2 separate regions of the Homo sapiens genome follow, and region 1 is linked to region 2. Evidence: promoter capture Hi-C in 16 types of primary human blood cells and fetal thymus (Javierre and others, 2016). All regions are on one chromosome and are shown on one strand. Each heading gives the region's core, a stretch centred on a gene start or on the middle of the fragment in contact. The rest is flanking DNA. Distances are from core to core; before and after follow the strand shown. Region 1 overlaps LOC105373262 (a long non-coding RNA gene). Region 2 holds the start of CEP170 (centrosomal protein 170).

Region 1 (4,217 bases), core at 372-2,871, 1.0 Mb before region 2:
CCAAATAAATTAATTCATTGGATTGTATTTAAAGCTGGCAGTGCCCCCTTCTCTGTTGTTTTGCTGTCAAATTTTCCAAACTTACAAGTGTCCGTTTGCCAGTCCTGTATGTGAAGACATCCAGTCAGTCTAGCAGTGGACTCTGACACTCTCCCCCTCTGGCCTTCTGGAATCTTTTAGCCTCGTGGCTGGCACTCAAACCCAGATGTCTGAGTTTCCAAGGCTGGTGTTTTTCCATGTATTACAGAAAACTCCAAGAGATGTCTGCAGTATTATTGTGGCCATCACCAGTTCCGCTCTTGTTAGACAGTGGGTGCTTCAGGTCAGATTTGGCCATCATACCTTTAATTCCCACTCTCATTTGGCTCATGTTAAGTGTTTAAAAAGAACATGAAAAACCTCTAAAGAAAACCTCACCTTCTCGCACCTTCCTGAAGGAAAACCCAGACTGCTCTCTCTCCCTCACTGCTATCTCTCTCTCTGTCTGCTATCCCTCTCTGTCTGCTGTCTCTCCCTTACTGCTATCTCTCTCTGACTGCTATCTCTCTCTCTGACTGCTATCTCTCTCTTTGCCTGCTATCTCTCCCTCACTGCTCTCTCTCTCCCTGACTGCTATCTCTCTCTGACTGCTCTCTTTCTCCCTGACTGCTATCTCTCTCTTTGCCTGCTATCTCTCCCTCACTGCTATCTCTCTCTTTGCCTGCTATCTCTCCCTCACTGCTCTCTCCCTCACTGCTATCTCTCTCCCTCACTGCTATCTCTCCCTGACTGCTATCTCTCCCTGACTGCTATCTCTCTCTCTGACTGCTATCTCTTCCTGACTGCTATCTCTCTCCCTCACTGCTATCTCTCTCCCTCACTGCTATCTCTCTCCCTCACTGCTATCTCTCTCCCTCACTGCTATCTCTCCCTGACTGCTATTTCTCCCTCACTGCTATCTCTCCCTCACTGTTATCTCTCTCCCTCACTGCTATCTCTCTCCCTCACTGCTATCTCTCTCCCTCACTGCTATCTCTCCCTGACTGCTATTTCTCCCTCACTGCTATCTCTCCCTCACTGTTATCTCTCTCCCTCACTGCTATCTCTCTCCCTCACTGCTATCTCTCTCCCTCACTGCTATCACTCTCCCTCACTGCTATCTCTCTCCCTCACTGCTATCTCTCTCCCTCACTGCTATCTCTCCCTCACTGCTATCTCTCTGTCTGCTATCTCTCTCCCTCACTGCTATCTCTCTCCCTCACTGCTGTCTCTCCCTCACTGCTATCTCTCTCTCTGTCTGCTATCTCTCTCCCTCACTGCTATCTCTCTCTTTGTCTGCTATCTCTCTCCCTCACTGCTATCTCTCTCTCTGTCTGCTATCTCTCTCCCTCACTGCTATCTCTCCCTGACTGCTATCTCTCTCCCTCACTGCTATCTCTCTCCCTCACTGCTATCTCTCTCTCTGTCTGCTATCTCTCCCTCACTGCTATCTCTCTCCCTCACTGCTATCTCTCTCTCTGACTGCTATCTCTCCCTCACTGCTATCTCTCCCTCACTGCTATCTCTCCCTGACTGCTATCTCTCCCCGACTGCTATCTCTCCCTGTCTGTTATCTCTGTCGGACTGCTATCTCTCTCCCTGACTGCTATGTCTCCCCGACTGCTATCTCTCCCCATCTGCTATCTATCTCTGACTATCTCTCCCTGTCTGCTATCTCTCCCTGTCTGCTATCTCTCTCTGTCTGCTCTCTCTCTCTCTGACTGCTATCTCTCTCCCTGACTGCTATCTCTCTCCCTGTCTGCTCTCTCTCCCTGACTGCTATCTCTCTCCCTGACTGCTATCTCTCCCTGACTGCTATCTCTCCCTGACTGCTATCTCTCTCCCCGTCTGCTCTCTCTCCCTGACTGCTATCTCTCTCCCAGTGTGGAAGAGAGGAAGAACCTCCTATTTTCAGACATGGCCTGTGGAGAAGAAAGCCCCAGGTTGCATCCACAGGGTGGTGTCTCTGGAAGATTCTGGGATAACCCTGTAAGAGTTTGGTGGAAGAGGCCGGGTGCAATGGCTCACGCCTGTAATCCCAGCACTTTGGGAGGCCAAGACAGGTGGATTGCTTGAGGTCAGGAGTTCGAGACCAGCCTGGCCAACATGATGAAACCCCATCTCTACCAAAAATACAAAAGTTAGCTGGGCATGGTGGTGTGCACTTATAATCCCAGCTACTCGGGAGGCTGAGGCAGGAGAATCACTTGAACCTGAGAGGCGGAGGTTGCAGTGATCTGGGAGCCCACCACTGCCCTCCAGCCTGAGTGACAGAGCAAGACTCAGTATTAAAAAAAATAAAAAGAGTTAGGTGGGAGGAATGAGTGCCTTCTCTGATTCAGGCGTTCTGGCATGTCACCTCTAGGGGATTGAAGGGGGACCCTCATTCTGTAGGACAGAGGGATAACCTTTCACCTCCATCCCCCAGATGTGCCCCAGGATCTCCTGTAGACACAGCCTACCTCCCCCTCCTATAATCCTCACCAGCGAGCACACTTGGGGTGCTGGTGACTCATCCTGGATCCTAAGGGAGGCTTCCTGAGGATGGGCCTAGTGAACCAAACTTGGAGACAGAAGGTGAGTATGGAGACAGCGGAGCCCAGCCCGGAGGGAAGATGGCCTGGACATGAGTCATCCGTCCTCATCATTCGCCCAAGGATTCGATGTTCCTTTGGCTGGCATCTATTTTCTCTTTGCAAAACTATTGATCCTGCTGCCAAATGTACCCTAAGCCTACCTTATGCATCAGTGAGATGAATGATAAATTCAGTAACCTGAGGACACAGTAACGAGAGGGCACAGAGGACAGTGACTTGGACTTTCATCAGTAGACTTAACACTGGTTGGGCCACGGCCCGAGCAGGACTGAAATTTAGCAGGAGATGAGGACAGTAACATTTGGGTTTGTTCACCAAGCCCCCAGCTTGGCACCAGAAATTTTTGGCTTTCTGCAAACAGCTGCACAGAAGCAGTGGCCAAACCCAGCTAGTGTGTGATGAGTCATCTTGCGTCAGCATCGTGCAGCACAGACATCCTATGAGGGCTCCTTTAGCTGCTGTGTCTGGTTTGGGCTTTTTCCAAAAGACGAGGGAGCCAAATACCTAAGCCCCCACACTAATGAGCACTTTGCGATTCCATGTAAGCAAAGTTATTTCACCTCCCAAGACGCATCTACACTCCTCATTATTCATTGGCTGGCCCCGTGAAGCAAGGCCGAAGAAACTGACTTGACTTAAATCAGAAAAATGAAAACGGAGAGGACTTGGCAGTATGTATCTTTAGGAAAGCATGAGACAGTGTAAAGTCCTTCTCTTTATTCTGAGGCCAGGGCTTTAGACTATAGTAAGGTTAGTCATTGAAACCGATTTCAAGTTTCTAAAGTTTTACCAAGTATGATGATAGAAACTACTTCTCTAGGGATTTTTAATATATTCATGTGCATATGATTTTAAAGTGGACAAGGCACTCTTCATATGCATGATCTTATGTAAACACTACAAAACTCCAAGAATCAAACATTTATTATGACCTCCATTTTACAGATGAGAAAACAGGTTCCTAAAAATGAAATTATTTGCTCAGGGATGATGTCACAAATCACTGACAGAGCTTAAACGCAGGAACCAACATTCTGACTCCAAATCCCATTGATGTTTTCCCCAAACGATACAAGAAATGTCTTAAATGAAAGTCCATGTGAATATTTTGAAGAACCCTTCCAACGTCTTACCTAGACTGTTTTGTGATGCTGAGAAATTGATCTACACGTGTGCATCCCTCACATGGCCACAAGATGGCAGGGTAGCCTCGATGATTGAGAAATTGGCTTCATTCCTTGCACCAGTAGAGGGCTGTAGTTCCATGTTTCAAAAAGTAAGACATGGAAAAAAAAAAAAAAAAAAAAGAAAAGAAAAGAAAAGAAAAACAAAACAAAACAAAACAAAACCCATCAGTGTCTACATTGATGAAATAGGATGGTGGGAGGTTTGTTTTTCTTTTTGCCTTTTCTTTTTTAAATTAGGCAGTGAGAGTTCAAACAAACAAGTCTCCATTTTCACCTCTGTGTTTGCTTTTGGAGGCACGAGGTCAGGACTTGGGCCAGCCGCCTAGCCTACATTATTCATCTGTCCAGTTCCAGCCCTGGAACAAATGTGAAGAAATGAAGTAGCTTCAGTGGAGGGAAAACAGTGTTGTTATTG
Region 2 (4,182 bases), core at 1-2,500:
AATGGCATAGAGCTATCCAAGAGTTTCTGCTGTCGCCGGTTGAGAAAGATGCCAAGTTAAGATCAAGGAGTTGATTGAGGTAACTACGGGAATCTGAGGAAACATCGTTGCTTAACTGTAAAAACTAAATCAAACTATTTCATCCTCCTCAAGACCACAGCAACATCCATCTTGCTCCTCTGTAGCGTGGACGGGGCAGAACCCAGGTGTTAGGAAACGCACCTGGTCTGCTCCCGCCCACTAGGCCCTGGGCACCTCGGGGCTAGGGACAGAGGTTTGGAGCAACTCACCCCGGAGACTCCGTTGATACTGCCCCAGAATCTCCTCCAGGGTAGAGTTCTCCGGGGACTTCGCCATGCACGCACTCTAGGCCCAGAGCTGGGAGTTACGTGGGGAAATGTCCAGCTTTCTCCCTTCCGAGAACAACAGGCCTGTGGCCGGGGAGCGCCCGCCTGCTTCCTGCCGCGGCTGTCACAGGGGAGCCTAGAATCCCGCACAGAGCTCTTGGGGGCTCTTCCCACCCACTGGCCCTCGCTTTGCACGTCGGGAGTTGTAGTCCTCACGTTCAGAACCTGCAAGCTCGACAATCCTCAGGGCCTTCCAGTTACACTACAATTCCCAGAAACCACTGCGCTCCAGGCGCTAGCTTGGACGGTTTGGCTGCCAGAGCCTGCTGCCAAGAGACAGGCTTGCAGGCCCCGCCCTTTTCCTCCAGCCCAGCCTGGTTTAGTCCCGCCTCCATCCCACTCTTCAGCTGCCTGGACCACCCAAATGACAGAAAGGGCTCACTGAAGGCCTTGACGCTTCGAAATTTGCTAATATGCAGCAGTTGATCCCCAGGCTACTCAAGGACGCAGATAGTAAACTCTGAACCCTGCTTCAGTTGCGAGATTTTTTAAAACGGTCGAATAAATCTTCAAGAAATAGAAGCTCTAAATCTTCCAAACAGCCTAGATTGTAAAGGCGGCCGACACTACAACTCCTAGCATGCCCAGCAACCGGACCTTCACTTGGAGTTGGCGCTCTGCCCGCTGGGAACTGTAGTCCTTGTTGGTTGCGGTCCCACCTAACGCCGAGGTCCTCTTCATTGTTCAAGCTGGTCTTTCGGGGCACGCCTGCGCAGTGGGCAAGCTGGAAAAGCGTGTGGGTGAGACCCTCGCACAACCCCTTTTCATTGTCTGTGTGTGGCGCCTGCGCAGTAAGGGATCGTTGGAACTGGGCAGGAGGGGATAGGGTCCGGCTCCTCGCCCTTTCCCGAGGCGCCTGCGCACTAGGCAGTCGGTCTTTGCCGTTACCGCTATGTGTGGGGCGTGTGTGGAATAACGTTATTGCCCAGCGGAGCTGAGGGCCCCGGAGCTCGACCGCAGCGGCAGCGACGACAACAGCGGCGACGACGACGACGACGAGGTGGGGGGAGGACGGCGTGCGAGAGACTCACGGGACGCGACGCGCCCCGCCTCCCCCGTCCGGTCCCTCTCTCCACGGTAAGGGGTAAGTGATGCGATCGGCTGCTCGGTGTAGGCGCCGCAGCCGCAGCCACCGCCGCGGCTGCTTTCCACATCCTGCTCCTCGGGTTTGCGGCGAGGACTCGGGCGCCGCCCGCCGCGGGGCGGGGGTGCGGGGCTGGACCGCGAAGGGGGCGCTTCCCGGGTGCTCCGCGCGGCGCCGCCACCCCCACCCTCTGCCCGCCTGGGACCCGGGGCTTGACGGGACCACCCTTCCCATCCCCCACCCGCCGCCCCCCGGAGCTCCAGTCCTGCGGCCCCCCGGCTTTCCCGAGCCCCTTGCTGCCGCCTCCGCATCCCCTAAGTGCATTGAATCATTTTCAGCTTTCGACTGGCTTTGTGCAGCCCTCCCCCCTCCGCCGTAGCAGTTTGCGAGGGGTGCGGGCGGAGCATTGGAGGGAATGGCTGCGCTGCCGCTGGGGAAGGGATTTTTCCCCCATTGGAGCAGCTCCCCGGGCCAATCCCTTTTGTGTGATTGGTTTTGGGGTGTGAGGCGGTTGGCGAGGTCAGGCGAGCAACCTTTTGGACGCGTTGGGAGGGCGTGGAAGACGCGGTGTCATGCACCCTGCCTGGCGACTGCACCCCGTGGAGGCTCTGGCTCTGTAGTAAACCCGGGGGAGGAGAGAGTGGCTTCCTGTCGGCTTCATTGTCCTAGGATTCAGATGTAGGGTTTTGGTACGTTTCGCTTCCATTTTATGCAAGCGATGAAAAAATAACATTTGCAGCTGCCTAACACAGGGCGGGAAGACGTGGGATTTGTATACTAAGTCACAGAATCTCTGTTCGGTGGTGTTTCGTAGAGTTTTATTTATTTATTTATTTATTTATTTATTTATTTTGAGGAATGTAAGGAAGACAGGGACTATGCCTGCTGGAGTCCAAGCACTGCCAAGGTGATCAATATAAAATTACTAGGTGACGTTGGAGCCTGGGCTAGAGAGGGCCTGACAACGAAGCTGTTGTGTCAGGGAAATGAACAAGCAGAATTGTTTTTTCATTGGGCAGGTAATGCATTTATGTTCCTGAGGGAATGGATACATCTTTCCGTTTATTTTTTAAGCAAGTAAAACAAACAAAACAACTGGCCCAGTACATTTCTGTTACCGAAGTTGTTAACTCATTTTTATTCTCTTAATGAAAATTCAGCCATTTGGGAGGAATTTGGCGAAGCAGATGATACATTTGATTGAAAATGCATATTTTAAAATGATTTAATCCTTAAGCTTACAATGTATGCAGCCGTTTGCTGGCGTTGCTTCTTAAAACACACCAGAAGAGAGAATAAAGCAGGATGGGGAGGAGCAGGTGGAGGAATAATGGGAGAGGAGAGAGTGACATTATGACTATAGTATCTGGATCTTCACTGGTATAACCCTAACTGGGTATGCTTCAGAGACTTAGGAATTCAGCTCTGGAAACAGTACACTGATGAATAGCAACTTATGTATTTTTCTGTTATTATTTTTTAAAAAGTAAAACTAGGGCTGCCTTTAGCTCTTCCTAACTTTGTAGATAACACGGAAGAGCCCAAGTGCACTTGACAGAGGAAGACACTAAAACTCAGAAAGTTAACTGACTTGTCTGCCCAAGCCAGACAGTTAATCGAAGGCAGAGCCAAACGAAACTCAAGGTCCATTCTGCAGAGTGATCTTTCCTGTGTCCCCCTAGCCCTTTTACCTTGTGAAAATGTATGGAAAGCTTCTCTATGTGCTCCCTGAGTAGGCTGTGACTATCACTGAACTTGATTCTCACCGTGATTAATCTAGTTCTTGCCTTTGTGATGTAAAAGTAGTAATCCTCCTAAAATGGACCTTTACTTTCATAAAGTAACTTACTACATGAGGAAAGATGTCCTAACATGTGCTTTTCATAAAAACGAAGTGTTGCAGTGTTTTCCCTACTACCTAATGGTAGCTACTTAACGGTAGGTTTTAATATTATTTCTTGAAAATCAATAGTATTTTATAATAGTATGATGATCAACTCTATAGGCTGTGTTAAAAATAAAATTTCCGCATAACAAGAACCTATGATGTTTATTTTGCCACAGTTAATGAGTTGTAATCATTAATGAGTTATTAGTGATTACTTTTAACTTAAACTAGAATTTACATTTTAAGATATATTAACTTTATGTTTTTTATTGGGTTGATTTTGCCATAAAGTGCTTTTTTCTTCCCTTATAATTTTAATCGTTTAATTTTACGTTGCATTTTAATAGACTTCTTTAAAGGATTTATTATTTATCTTAAATTTCAACTTTAAAAATCTGTAACTAAATTTCAGTATGTGGGATTATATTCAATCATGCTTTAAATGTATTTTACTGGTAAATTTCATTGTGTTCTGAGATTATTTTGTATGGAAATAATCTGCCTGTTCCCTATTTTAACATTAGAATAGTGAAATTTATACTGTAAACCTTAGCATACATTCTGCATATTAATGCTGTTATGGTACTTTTTAAAATTCTGTGCTTCGTGATTTATTTGATTTGTTCCAAGTATCAGTTTCTTGTTCCTTTTTATCTACTGAAAAAAAGAACTAGTTTTATTATTGTATCTGATTGCAATTAGATAATGCTCATCTAGTACTAAATATTGTATATGCTTAAGCTTTTTTGTCAAAATGTTTTTTATTCCACAAAATTGTATTCCTGAAAAATATTTTTTCTATA

Evidence for each region. Contacts are between HindIII fragments. The CHiCAGO score rates a contact against its expected background, and 5 or more counts as called.
Region 1: a contact is called between a fragment that was not itself captured here and the fragment with the promoter of CEP170 in region 2, in 5 of 17 cell types (neutrophils, fetal thymus, monocytes and 2 more). The highest score is 12.5, in neutrophils.

The regions. Positions count from the first base shown.
Region 1 is chr1:244,272,808-244,277,024 of GRCh38, reverse strand. All of the region lies in intron 1 of LOC105373262 (a long non-coding RNA gene), which reads left to right. Among named protein-coding and RNA genes, the nearest start is that of SPMIP3, 78 kb to the left of the region's middle. RefSeq lists a silencer at 3,737-3,963. The HindIII fragment of the contact is 6,583 bases long and covers 1-4,217 here.
Region 2 is chr1:243,252,349-243,256,530 of GRCh38, reverse strand. It overlaps CEP170 (centrosomal protein 170), which reads left to right and starts at 1,250. Exons shown (of 20, transcript NM_014812.3): 1 at 1,250-1,491. It overlaps SDCCAG8 (SHH signaling and ciliogenesis regulator SDCCAG8), which reads right to left and starts at 490. Exons shown (of 18, transcript NM_006642.5): 1 at 291-490. The coding sequence starts at 357. The HindIII fragment of the contact is 10,208 bases long and covers 1-2,730 here.